Linked DNA regions of Homo sapiens: regions 1, 2 and 4 are each linked to region 3. Evidence: promoter capture Hi-C in human tissues and cell types (Jung and others, 2019). All regions are on one chromosome and are shown on one strand. Each heading gives the region's core, a stretch centred on a gene start or on the middle of the fragment in contact. The rest is flanking DNA. Distances are from core to core; before and after follow the strand shown.

Region 1 (3,112 bases), core at 1-2,500, 290 kb after region 3:
GCTTTCACAGTGCTAGAGCAGGGGAAGTTGCAAGCAAATTAATCCCAGAACAGGGTTAGGGGCAGCCTGAAACCTGAGGCCCCGCTCCTCCTGGAGTTCCCTGCCTGCTTCTTTGCCCCCTATGGGCAGCTGTGACCCACACCCCGCTGCCCTGGTGAGTGATGTGTCCATCATGGCCATGGCAGCTTCCGGGCTGCAGCTGGGGTCTGGTTTCCCACTAAGGCTGAAGTAAGGAACCATAATCTCTGGGCTGACACCCCAGGCTGCACGCTCCTCATGGAAACACCATCTGTGAGCTGGACACACACAGCCCACAGCCCTGGGTAAAGAGATTTATTCGTAGAGCGTTCCCTTCAATGTGGCTTCAAATACTTTTTAATTTATTAAATAAAAACATGAAAGCCGTGAATTTAGTGCTCTCCATCTCGGGCCTTCCTGGCCTGGTCTCTGGGAAGATAAGGGTCAGGAGCGGGCTGGGTGGAGAGCTCATTTCTTGCCCTTGCCCTTCTCCTTGCCTTTCTGCTTGCCCTTCTCCTTGTCCTTTGCTTTGCCCTTGCCCCGCTTCTTCTTGGATCTGAGCAGGGAGCGCACCAGATAGCCCTTCCATAGGGCCTGGATGAGCGTGGCCGCCCGTACCATGCGCACCATCTCCTGCTCTGCCTCCATCCTTTTCTTGGAGTTGATCTCCCGCTCTTCCCGGATCTGCGCAAACTCTCCCACCAGCACTTTGTGCCTCCGCCTGAGCTCCTCCAGCGAGATCTTCTCCTCCCTGTGAACAGCGTCCAGATCCTCCAACTCCTCCTGGGGTGAGGGGTGGGGCTGGGGTCACCACACATAGAGTGCCTCCTCCCACCCTCCTCCCTGAGGCCCCCTTACCCTTCCCAAATGGTCTTCTGCCCCAGCGATGCCCCTAAGCTAAGCTGTTCAGCATCTCTCGGTCCCAGTGACATGGATGGGGAGAGGGGATGGGCTCCATCCTAGCTCTAGGAAGGACCCAACTGAAATAATTTCAGGAACAGGAAAAGAACATGGGCTTGTGAGTTGGGCAGACTTAGTTTTAAGTCCCAGCTCTGCCACACCTCAACTGACTTCACCTTTCGGGCCTTCGTTTTTCCTCATCTGAAACATGGGGACGATTCCGAAGCCAGGGGCTGTTTCTAGGATTAAATGACCCGATGGACACAATGTACTGGACATGATGCCAGGCACACAGTGGGGACACAAGAAATGGAGGCTGCTGCCATGAAAGCAGTCTGTTCCACAAGACACCAGAGGAGAAGGAACTTTCTCAGGCCTCAAACGGAGTCCCAGAGTTCTTCCTTATGTCTAACCATAGCCTCTCCTGCTGTCATTTACACCCGTTTTCCTTCCTTCCACTGATGTTTTCCCAGCATCTACAAAAAGCAGAGCACTGCCAGAGGACACAGAGCTGGGTGGACAAAGTCCCTGCCCGCAACCAACCCACAACCCTCATGGGACCCAGAGAAATGAGAGCCCCCGCCTGCAAAGCTCCCCTCTCCAGGCCCTGATGGTTGCCCAGGACAAGGTTCTGACTTGCCCTTCTCTGAAGAGCACACCTGGCTTTGGCTCACTCCAGCGCATATTACCTCCAGTGCTCTCCAGTGCTCCCCAGTCCTCCCTGGCCCCTGGGTTGGAGCCATGGGCCACCAATGTTATCCCAGTGCTGGGTGAAGGGTTTGGGCGTGTCTCGATTTGAAGGTTACCACCCCCTGAGCACTTCCCTCCAGGCCAGACCCTGTGCTGGGCACACACACTTGCAGCCATGGTGTCTCACCGAATCCCCGCCATGGTCCCAAAATGGGAATTACTGCCTTTGCTAATCAGATGCAGAAACGGGCTTGGGAAGGTCAAGTACCTTGCTTAAGGCCACACAGCTGGCACATCTCAGGTGCTCAATAAAAACTGGCTGAGTGACTGAGTGATGCAGTGGAGGCAGGCTCCCATCTGAGTCTGTGGGAAGGAGCCCCACCTTGTAGGGGTGCTGGCAGGAGCCCATCCAGAGGAGTATGGGATGTGGACACTAGATGGAGCCATGATCATTAGGCCCAGTGTCAGAGTGTCAGGCCCTTCTAGCCAGTCGCTTTTTTTTTTTTTTTTTTTTTAAATTAATAGAGATGGAGTCTTGCTCTGTTGCCCAGGCCGGTCTTGAATTACTGAGCTCAAGCGATCCTCCCACCTCAGCCTCCCAACGTGCTGGGATTACAGGCATGAGCCACAGCACCTGGCCTTGCAGCTTCTGGCTCTTTTCTTTCCCACCTCTCACTCTGCCCCAGGCTGGACAAACCCTTTAAACAAAGGGAAGTGCTCCCTGCAGAGAGGCTCAGAAGTTTGCCCACTCCATGGACCATCCCAAGGCTACTTTTCCCATTCATCCCATTCCTAGAAGGTCTTGGGAAAAGCATGCGAGAGAGACTTATTCAGCGACAAATACCTGCTTCTCACCCATCTCTGTATCATATTTCTGGATCCAGTTCTCGATTTCCGTTTCCACTTTATATTTCTTCTAGAAAAGATCCAATTTGTCATTGTTTGATGGAATATATTAACAATCAACAGCACTGAGCACTCTCTGCATCACTAGGCTCTGGCAGGTGCTTGACATGCCTCGCCTATTGAACAAGGAGGTTCCCTTTTCTCCATTTCACAGGGGAGAGAACTGAGGCTCAGACATGCTATCTTACTTGCCCAAGGTGACAGAGCTAATGGGTGGCAGAGCCTGAATTTGATGCCAGCAGCCTGGTTCCAGGACATCCTAGGCAGAGAAAGCAGCAGGTGCAAAGGCCCTGAGGTAGGAACAAGCTTGTGCTGTTTAAAGGACAGAAATCAGCCTGGCGTGGTGGCTTACGCCTGTAATCCCAGCGCTTTGGGAGGCTGAGGCAGGCGGGTCACTTGAGGCCAGGAGTTTGAGACCAGCCTGGCCAACATGCCAAAACCCCATCTCTACTAAAGATACAAAAATTAGCCAGGCATGGTGATGCACACCTGTAATCTCAGCTACTCAGGAGGCTGAGGCAGGAGAATCACTTGAACCCAGGAGGCAGAGTTTGCAGTGAGCTGAGATCATGCCACCACACTCCAGCCTGGGTGACAG
Region 2 (3,138 bases), core at 552-3,051, 360 kb before region 3:
CGGGACAGGATAGTCCCTCTGAGAGCTGAGCATGTGCCCTTGGAAAGCAGTCAATGATCTGTGGGTCTAATCGCAATCACTTACTCCTCTGTGATGGGGAAGTGTGTGCTTGTCTTCCATGGCTGCTGTAATGAATGACCACAAACTCGGGCTTAAAAACCACAGATTCATTATCTGACAGTTCTGAAAGTCAGAACTGCAATGGGCTAAAGGCAATAGGCAAAAATCAAGGTGTCAAAAAGCTGCATTGCTTTTTGGAGTCTTTTTTTTTTTTTTTTTTTTTTTTTGAGACAGAGTCTCGCTCTGTTGCCTAGGCTGGAGTACAGTGGTGTGATCTCAGTTCACTGCAACCTCTGCCTCCCAGGTTCAAGGGATTCTCCTGCCTCAGCTGTAATCCCAGGTAGCTGGGATTACAGGTGTGTGCCACCATGCCTGGCTAATTTTGTATTTTTTAGTAGAGACAGGGTTTCACCATGTTGGTCAGGCTGGTCTCAAACCTGACCTCAGGTGATCCACCCACCTTGTCCTCCCAAAGTGCTAGGATTACAGGCACGAGCCACTGCGCCCGGCCCACTTTTTGGAGGCTTTAGGGGGAGAATCTGTTTCCTTGCCTTCTTCAGCTTCTTAGAGCAGTGGTCCCCAACCTTTTTGGCACCAGGGACTGGTTTCATGGAAGACAGTTTTTCCGCGGGATGGTGATGGTGTAGGGGATGGTTTCAGGATGATTCAAGTATATCACATTTATTGTGCACTTTATTTCTATTATTATTACATTGTAATGTATAATGAAATAATTATACAACTCACCATAATGTAGAATCAGTGGGAGCCCTGAGCTTGTTTTTCTGCAAGTAGATGGTCCCATCTGGGAGTGATGGGAGACAGTGACAGATCATCAGGCATTTGATTTTCATAAGGAGTGCACAAGCTAGATCCCTTGCATGAGCAGTTCACGATAGGGTTCGTGCTCCTATGAGAATCTAATGCCGCAGCTGATCTGACAGGAGGCGGAGCTCAGGTGGTAATGTGAGAGATGGGGAGTGGCTATAAATACAGATGAAGCTTTGCTCACTTGCCTGCTGCTTGCCTCCTGCTGTGTGGCCTGGTTCCTAAGAGGCCACAGACAGTACCAACCGGTGGCCTGGGGGTTGGGGACCCCTGTCTTAGAGGATGCCTGCATTCTTTGGCTCATGGCCCCTTCAACCTTCAAAGCCAGTAACAGCTGGTTTAGTCTTTCTCATGTTGCATTCCTTTGACTCTGCCTCCCTCATATATATATATATATATATATGTGTGTGTGTGTGTGTGTGTGTGTGTGTGTGTGTGTGTGTGTATTTTGAGACACAGTCTCACTCTGTTGCCCAGGCTGGAGTGCAGTGGCATGATCATGGTTCACTGCAGCCTCGACCTCCTGGGCTCAAGTGATCTTCCCATCTCAGCCTCCCAAGTGCTCTTCAATCTTTAAAGGACCCTTGTGATTACATTGAGTCCACCCAGATAATCCAGGATAATTTCTTTATTTTAAGGTTAGCAAACTTAATTCTGTTTAATTTTTAAAAAGTTCTTTTGTTTCACTCTGTCGCCCAGGCTGGAGTGCAGTGGTACAATCATGGCTCACGGCAGCCTCCATTTCCTTTGCTCAAGCGATGCTCTTGCCTCAGCCGCCCAAGTAGCTGGGACTACAGGTGTGCAAAATCAAGCCTGGCTAATTTTTTTGTTTGTTTGTTGTTGTTGTTCTTGTTGTTGTTTTGTAGAGACGGGGTTTCTCTGTGTTGCCCAGGCTGGTCTCAAACTCCTGGGCTCAAGTGATCCTCCCACCTTGGCCTCCCAAAGTGCTGAGATTACAGGTATAAGTCACTGCATCCAGCCAACAAACTTAATTCTATCTGCAACCATAATTACCCTTTGCACCATGTAAAGTAACATATTCACAGGTTCCAAGGATTAGGATGTGGATATCTTGTGGGGGGTGGGGGGGGTGTTATTCTGTCTACCACAAGGCAGTTTCTGAACTTTGCTAGTCATCCATAATATATGGGTAACCCTGACTTCTTCATGGGTTGTTAACGGGTTCAGATGAGAGAACCTATGCAATACACCTGGCGCAGTCCGTGGCACACAGCAGGCATTCCTGTTAGTCCCTTTCCCTTCTCCTCCTTGGGCTATTGGCTTCAGTGTGGCTGAGCGTGTTTCTTCAGCTGTTAAATGACGTAGATATATCAGTCCCGCCTACCTCAAAGTGCTGTTCCTTTCTTCCTTCATTCACTTTCTCATTCACTCATGCAACAAATATGTATTGAGGGCCTACGATGCGTGAGACGCTTGTGCTAGGTGCCGGAGCAGAGCCGCAGATAAGGGAGACATGAGGTTTATTTTCAGGTGAGGAAGGAAATAGTGAGAAAACAGATAAACAATCCTAATTTGGTATAGTAATAAGTACAAGAAGACAAAGTAGGGTAAGAGAACACAGAAGGGTGGAGATGGTGGAGGGTGGGCAGTGGGATGCTATTTTAAATAGAGAGGTCAGAAAGAGCATGTCTAGGCTGGGTGCGGTGGCTCACCCCTATAATCCCAGCACTTTGGGAGGCTGAGGTGGGCGGATCACTTGAGTCCAGGAGTTTGAGACCAGCCTGGCCAACAAGGTGAAACCCCATCTCTACTAAAAATACAAAAATTTGCCGGGTGTATTGGCACATGCCTGTAATCTCAGCTACTCGGGAGGTTGAGGCAAGATAATCGCTTGAACCTGGGAGGCAGAAGTTGCAGTGAGCTACACTCCATCCTGGGTGACAGAGTGAGACTCTATCTCAAAAAAAAAAAAAAAAGAAAAGAAAGAAAGAAAGAAAGAGCATGTCTGAGTGACATGAGAAATGACAGTGAGTGTTTGTTGATCGCCTGAATGACATGATGCTGATTTCCAGCTTGATTGTGGCAGAAGTGGATAAGCTGATTGCTGGTAATCAGTTTAATTATGTAAGATTCCTTTCACAACATTTTAAGATTTTCTGGCTTCTCTTTTCTGTGTTGCATTTTACTAGCATTGAAAGAAGTGACCCAAAGCATAGATTCATTTTTCCTTTTGGAACTGGACAGATATTTCTCAGATTTAGCTGCTATTCCTCCTGGAGGCCTCTCAAA
Region 3 (3,301 bases), core at 288-2,787:
ACAGCCTATCAAAAAGTGTGGGATGTAGTGAAAGTAGTGTTTAGAGGGAAAGTTATAGCATTGAATGCATATATTAGGAGAAGAAAGATCTAACTCAGAGAGGGATGAACAGGTGAGGCATAGGGGATTTTAAGGTAGTGAAACTCTTGCAGGGCAGGGGAGCCCCAAAACTGGGACACCGTCCGGGAAGGCTCTTGGCTTCGTCCAGGAAGGAATTCAAGGGTGAGCTAGAGGAGGAAGAAAAAGGTTTATTGAGGCAGCAGGGTTACAGTTCTGTGACTGTCCCTGCAGAGCAGGGCCACCCCATAGGCAGTGCCTGGAGAGCAGCAGCTCAGGGCACTTCTATAGTCACATTCATACCCACTTTTAAATACGTGCAAATTAAGGGCAGGTTATTCAGAAATTTCTAGAAGAAGGGTGGTAACTGGGTCATTGCCAGGGAATGAGTAAACTGTTCATGGTGCTGGTGCTCATGCCAGCCAGTCTTCAATCTGGCCCTGAGTCAAGCCCCACCTCCTATCTCAAAACTATTCTGCATGGTGCTGTAATGGTGGATACATGACATGTTATGTTTGGCAAAATCCATAGAACTGTAGGACACAAGAGTGAACCTTAATGTAAACCTTAATGTAAATGGACTTTTGTTAATTATGATGTATTAATATCAATTCATCAATTGTAACAAATGTATCACAGTACTGTTAATAATAGAGGAACTTATTGGCAGGAGAGAGAGCTTATGGAACTCTCTGCACATTCAGCTCAATATTTCTGTAAGCCTAAAACTGCTGTGAGAAATAAAATCCAACCTGGGCAACATAGCAAGACCTTGTCTCTACAAAAAATAAAAAATGAGCTGGGTGCAGTAACGCATGCCTGTAGTCCCAGGTATTCAGGAGGCTGGGGCAGGAGGATCCCTTGAACCCAGGAAGTTGAGGTTGCACGAGTCATGATCATGCCCCTGCACTCCAGCCTGGATAACAAAGCAAGATCCTGTCTCCAAAAAATAATAAAATAAAATAAAAATCTACTAATTGAAAGGGAAAAAAGCATAGTATAATACCATTCTTAACAAAAAGAAAAGAGACCTGTGTTTGTGTGTGTGTTAACATTTGAAAAAAATCTGGAAAGCTCTATATCAAAACGTTTATAGAGGCAATTTTGTAGTGTTAGAATCATAGATGATCTTTCCACTTCCTGGTTTTTCTGACTTTTTTTCTTTTTGCAGTGGGCATGTATTGCTGGAAAATACCACAGACAACTGTGAAAGGATTTCATCAACAACAAAAAAAAGATAAAGAAGGAAACACAAAATCTGTTAAATAAGATTTATGTTGGCTGGAGGTTAAAATGCATTTCCAGAGCAGAGTTCAGAGAAAGGCTGGGCTGCTTGTTGCTGGCTAAAGGACAAAGGGTAAGTTTCAGGAAGCAGAAGAGTGAGCAGATGAAATTCAGCACTGGGATCAGGGGAGTGTCTGATTTGCAAAAGGAAAGTGCAAAGACAGCTCCTCCCTTCTGAGGAAACGAAACCAACAGCAGTCCAAGCTCAGTCAGCAGAAGAGATAAAAGCAAACAGGTCTGGGAGGCAGTTCTGTTGCCACTCTCTCTCCTGTCAATGATGGATCTCAGAAATACCCCAGCCAAATCTCTGGACAAGTTCATTGAAGACTATCTCTTGCCAGACACGTGTTTCCGCATGCAAATCAACCATGCCATTGACATCATCTGTGGGTTCCTGAAGGAAAGGTGCTTCCGAGGTAGCTCCTACCCTGTGTGTGTGTCCAAGGTGGTAAAGGTGAGTCCAGGCCTGCCTGGCCAGGGGAGGGGTGGCTGAATGTGCAAGAGTTGAGATTGAGAATGAGAGAGAGAGAGAGAGAGAAGCAAAAACCTAGAACCCAGGGTGCAAATGTGAGTACAGAGAGCTGAGATCTTCTGGGATGGTGGTTTCTTATTTATCCACACAGCATGTTAAAATAGATTCTGGGGTGAAATCCTACATCCCTATTATTAACAAGTGACCCTCCCCCCTACTTCCCGCTGAAGTTTATGAACCACTGTCCTGGGCGATGCCCATTTCAGAAATAGGGAACTGAATCCCAGCTCTGGTAAACAGTTTGCTAATTCGTGGCCAGGCTAGGGGCTCACCATTTCTGCAGTGAAGAATCATATGTTTTGAAAGCAAATAGCACCTGCTGGCTGCAAGACCTTGAGCAAGTCACTTAACTACTCTGTGTTCCAATTTCCTCAGCCATAATCCCCAATACTGTTGCAGTCTTGCCAGTGCACCTTAATGTAGCAGCTTCTCACTGAATTAGTACCCAAGGTTCTTTGTCCTGCATCCAAGAAAATTAAGGAACATGGACACAAACGTGAGCTTGGAGCAAAAGTTCAGTAAGCAAAAGAAGAAAGCTGTCTCCACTGTGGAGAGGGAAGTCTGAGTGGATTGCCAGATTGCAGCTGAATGCAAAAAACTTTTATAAGAAACCACTCTCCTCCCTGTAACTGTTTGAGAAACTTTTTATCAGTAAAGCTGTGCAACTTCCCTTACCTTATGCAGCTGTGGGTATATCTCTAGGCAAGCATAAAGCGCTGCTTCTCTTGTATGTATAACTGTGGATTTGTTTTAGGTAAGTCCCACTCCCTGCGCCAGTTTCAGGCAGGCCGCTCCTCCAGGGCCCAGCCTTGACCATTTACCTAACTGATTTTTCCTCTACTTTCCCTCAATACCTCATAGGGCCGTGTAGATTAAGTAAAATAGTAAGTGTGAACCACCCAGCATAAGCTAGTCCTGGGCATCGTAAAGGACAATGGGAAAAGAACACAGATCCTGGAAGAAGGCCCCCAGGTTTGAATTGTATTTGCCACCTACTAGCTGGGTGATGGGGCTGATATATTATCTCACTGAGCATCCATTTTCCCATCTGTAAAATGGGAACTAATGATAATGGCATCCAAATCATAGCATCATTGTGAGCATTATAGGAGTTTAAGACATGCAATGCCTTCAGAACAGTGGCTAGTGCTCCATAATGTTAGTGATTGCTCCTGTCATTTTATTTAGGGAGGTTTGCCTCACTAAGCATCAATTATTATTTTTGTCGTCTTTTTCAGGGTGGCTCCTCAGGCAAGGGCACCACCCTCAGAGGCCGATCTGACGCTGACCTGGTTGTCTTCCTCAGTCCTCTCACCACTTTTCAGGATCAGTTAAATCGCCGGGGAGAGTTCATCCAGGAAATTAGGAGACAGCTGGAAGCCTGTCAAAGAGAGAGAGCATTTTCCGTGAAGTTTGAGGTCCAGGCTC
Region 4 (3,357 bases), core at 652-3,151, 380 kb before region 3:
AAAACCTTTTACTTTTATTGCAGTCTATTATTAGTATTGGAAGTCCTCAGTTAGATTTTCTCCCTGGTATGGAATGAAAACTTAATTCAAACACACACAGGAGAGGCAAACATGTTATTATTTGCTAATGGCTTTTAATCTTGGGAAGAGAGATAGATTGATTATCACCTCTGCCTTGGATAATTGGGGGAAGTGCTTCCATTTTGGAGAGGGTGATTTTTAAAGAGTTGAGAGTGGGGGAAGGCTGAGAGTCAAGAGCTGGTTAGGAGTCGTGCCTGTGTGATTTTGGTAACTTAAGCTTCTAGAGCCTCAGTTTCCTCACTGAAGAATGTGGCTGACAATTGTACCGTACTGCCCATGCCACTGTGAGGATTAAATGAGCTAATAGACATCATGGGAACAATTGTTGGTTTTTTTTTTTTTTTTTTTTGAGACTGAGATTAGCTCTGTCGCCTAGGCTGGACTGCAGTGGCACGATCTCAGCTCACTGCAACCTCTGCCTCCCGGGTTCAAGTGATTCTCGTGCCTCAGCCTCCCAAGTAGCTGGGATTACAGGCACCTGCCACCACGTTTGGCTAATTTTTGTATTTTTAGTAGAGACAGGGTTTCACCATGTTGTCCAGGCTGGTCTCAAACTCCTGACCTCAGGTGATCTGCCCTTCTTGGCCTCCCAAAGTATTGAGATTATAGGCATGAGCCACCACGCATGGCCTGTTTTTGAGGCAGGGTCTCGCTCTGTTGCTTAGGCTGGAGTACAGTGGTGGGATCTTAGCTTACTGCAATCTCCGCCTCCTGGGCTCAAGCCATCCTCCTGTCTCAGCCTCCTGAGTAGCTGGAACTACAGGCACACACCACCACGCTCGGCTAATTTTTGAATTTTTTGTAGAGATGAGGGTCTTGCTATGTTGCCCAGGCTTGTTTTGAACTCCTGAGCTCAAGCGATCCACCTGCCTTGGCCTCCCAGAGTGCTGGGATTACAGGCGTCAGCCACCGCACTGGCGAGAATGATTGTTTATTTGTAGTATCCCACAACAGAAGTACCACCCCCTGCAAATGTTCCTTTAAAGAAAAATGGTTATGGTGTCAGTTGTGCTATTTTCCATACACTGAAGTCTGATGCATCAGTGGAAAGGAGTGGATCACATCAACACAGATAAATCATACGAAGGGTTGAGGGAGACAAGCCAATCATAGAATCATATGAACAGAACGAGACCATTTATTTTGCATGTTCAGCAACATGCAAAAGCAAATAATACAATGTTTGCAGAAGAAAAATTACAACTGGGCATGGTGGCTCACGCCTGTAATCCCAGCACTTTGGGTGGCTGAGGCAGGTGGATCACTTGAAATCAGGAGATCGAGACCAGCCTGGCCAACATGGTGAAACCACATCTCTACTAAAAATACAAAAATTAGCCAGGCGTGGTAGCGGGCGCCTGTAGTCCCAGCTACTCGGGAGGCTGAGGCACAAGAATCACTTGAACCCAGGAGGTGGAGGTTGCAGTGAGCCCAGATGGTGCCATTGTACTCCAGCCTCAGCAACAGAGCAAGACTCCGTCTCAAACAATCAAACAAACAAACAACTGTGTATGGATCTCAAAGTTTTTTTGCACCAAAATAAACTCATACTAACTTGTTACAACACGTCTGAACAGGATCTAGTTTGAGGCACTAAGAAGGATAAGACATCTGTTTGAAAAGAACCCCTGTCAGAGCAACATGAATTCTCCTAAAACTGAAGTAAGAACAAACATCAAGTTTATGGTGAAGCTCGGGTGGAAGGATGGTGAAATCACTAATGCCTTATGAAAAGTTTGTGGGGAAAATGTGGTAGATAAATCAGCAGTTTACAAATGGATATCTCATTTTAAGAAGGGACAAGACAATATTGACTTGCCAGGCATGGTGGCACACGCCCGACATTCCAGCTACTGTGGAGGCTGAGGTGGGAGAATTGCTTGAGCCCAGGAGGTGGAGGCTGCACTGAGTCAAGATTGCACCACTGCACTCCAGCCTGGGTGACAGAGTGAGACTCCATCTCAAAAAAGAAAAAAAAGACAATGTCGAAAATGAGGTGCACAGTGGCAGATCATCCACATCAATTTTCGAGGAGAAAATTATCTTATTTGTGCCCTAACTGAAGAGGACTGATGATTAACAGCAGAAACAATAGCCAGCACCATAGACATCTCCATTGGTTCTGCTTACACCATTCTGAGTGAAAAATTAAAGTTGAGCAATGCCACTCATGAGTGTAAAATTATTACACCCAGATCAGCTGCAGACAAAAGCAGAGTTTTCAATGGAAATTTAAACAAATGAGATCAAGATCCTGAACATTTATTTGAAGAATTGTAACAGGAGATGAAACATTTACCATTATGATCCTGAAAACTAAGCCCAAGCGAAGCCATGGATACTAAGAGGTAGAAGTAGTCCAGTCAAAGCAAAAGCAGACCGGTCAAGAGCAAGGTCATGGCAACAGTTTTCGGGGATGCTCCAGGCATTTTGCTTGTTGACTTTCTGGAGGGCCAAAGAATGATAACATCTGCTGATTATGAGAGTGTTTTGAGAGAGCTAGCTAAAGCTTTAACCAGAAAAACACCTGGGAAACCTTCACCAGAAAGTCCTCCTCCACTATGACAACACTACTGCTCATTCCTCTCATCAAACAAGGACGATTTTGTAAGAGTTTTTATGGGAAATTATTAGGCATCCACTTTACAGTTCTGATTCTGCACCTTCTGACTTCTTTTTGTTTCTTAATCTTAAAAAAATCTTCAAAGGGCCCATTTTTCTACTGTTAATAATGTAAAAAAGACTGCATTGACAGGGTTCAATTCCCAGGACCCTCAGTTCTTCAGGGTTGGACTAAATGGCTGGTATCATGACTTACAAAAGTGTCATGATCTTTGCTGGGCACAGTGGTTCATGCCTATAAGTGAGAGGATTGCTTGAACCTAGGAGATTGAGGCTGCAGTGAGCCATGATCATGGCACTGCACTCCAGCCTGGGTGACAGAGCAACACCCTGTGTCAAAAAAAAAAAAAAAAAAAAAAGTCATGATCTTGATGGAGCTTATGTTGAGAAATAAAATTTATATTTTATATTTTTATCTTTTACTTCAATATCTATGAACTTTTTGAAGTCCCCTTGTATATACAGGCACTGTGCTAAGGTGCCTGACATGGATTCTCTTATTAAATCCACAAAACAACCATACTGGGTAGGTGCTATGGTTATCTTCATTTTACAGATGTGTAAACTGAGGCCTGATATCATTTGGCTCTGTGTCCCACCCAAATCTCATAATCTAAAACTGTAATCCCCATGTGTCAGAGGAGGGGCCTGGCA

The links. The method cuts DNA at HindIII sites, captures the fragments that hold promoters and counts their contacts. A contact is called where the count stands out against the background at its distance.
Region 1: a fragment that was not itself captured here is called in contact with the fragment with the promoter of OAS1 in region 3 in 1 of the 25 tissues and cell types used here (lymphoblastoid cells).
Region 2: a fragment that was not itself captured here is called in contact with the fragment with the promoter of OAS1 in region 3 in 2 of the 25 tissues and cell types used here (liver and thymus).
Region 4: a contact is called between a fragment that was not itself captured here and the fragment with the promoter of OAS1 in region 3, in 2 of the 25 tissues and cell types used here (mesendoderm cells and thymus).

What each region holds. Positions count from the first base shown.
Region 1 is chr12:113,195,089-113,198,200 of GRCh38, forward strand. It overlaps DRC10 (dynein regulatory complex subunit 10), which reads right to left. Exons shown (of 5, transcript NM_001330452.2): 4 at 2,453-2,524; 5 at 358-801. The coding sequence ends at 487. Among named protein-coding and RNA genes, the nearest start is that of RITA1, 11 kb to the left of the region's middle. The HindIII fragment of the contact is 6,666 bases long and covers 1-3,112 here.
Region 2 is chr12:112,548,177-112,551,314 of GRCh38, forward strand. No RefSeq gene overlaps it. Among named protein-coding and RNA genes, the nearest start is that of PTPN11, 130 kb to the left of the region's middle. The HindIII fragment of the contact is 5,589 bases long and covers 1-3,138 here.
Region 3 is chr12:112,905,425-112,908,725 of GRCh38, forward strand. OAS1 (2'-5'-oligoadenylate synthetase 1) reads left to right here and starts at 1,538. Exons shown (of 6, transcript NM_016816.4): 1 at 1,538-1,795; 2 at 3,112-3,301. The coding sequence starts at 1,616. RefSeq lists an enhancer at 1,379-1,818. The HindIII fragment of the contact is 21,386 bases long and covers 1-3,301 here.
Region 4 is chr12:112,520,561-112,523,917 of GRCh38, forward strand. No RefSeq gene overlaps it. Among named protein-coding and RNA genes, the nearest start is that of PTPN11, 100 kb to the left of the region's middle. The HindIII fragment of the contact is 4,619 bases long and covers 1-3,357 here.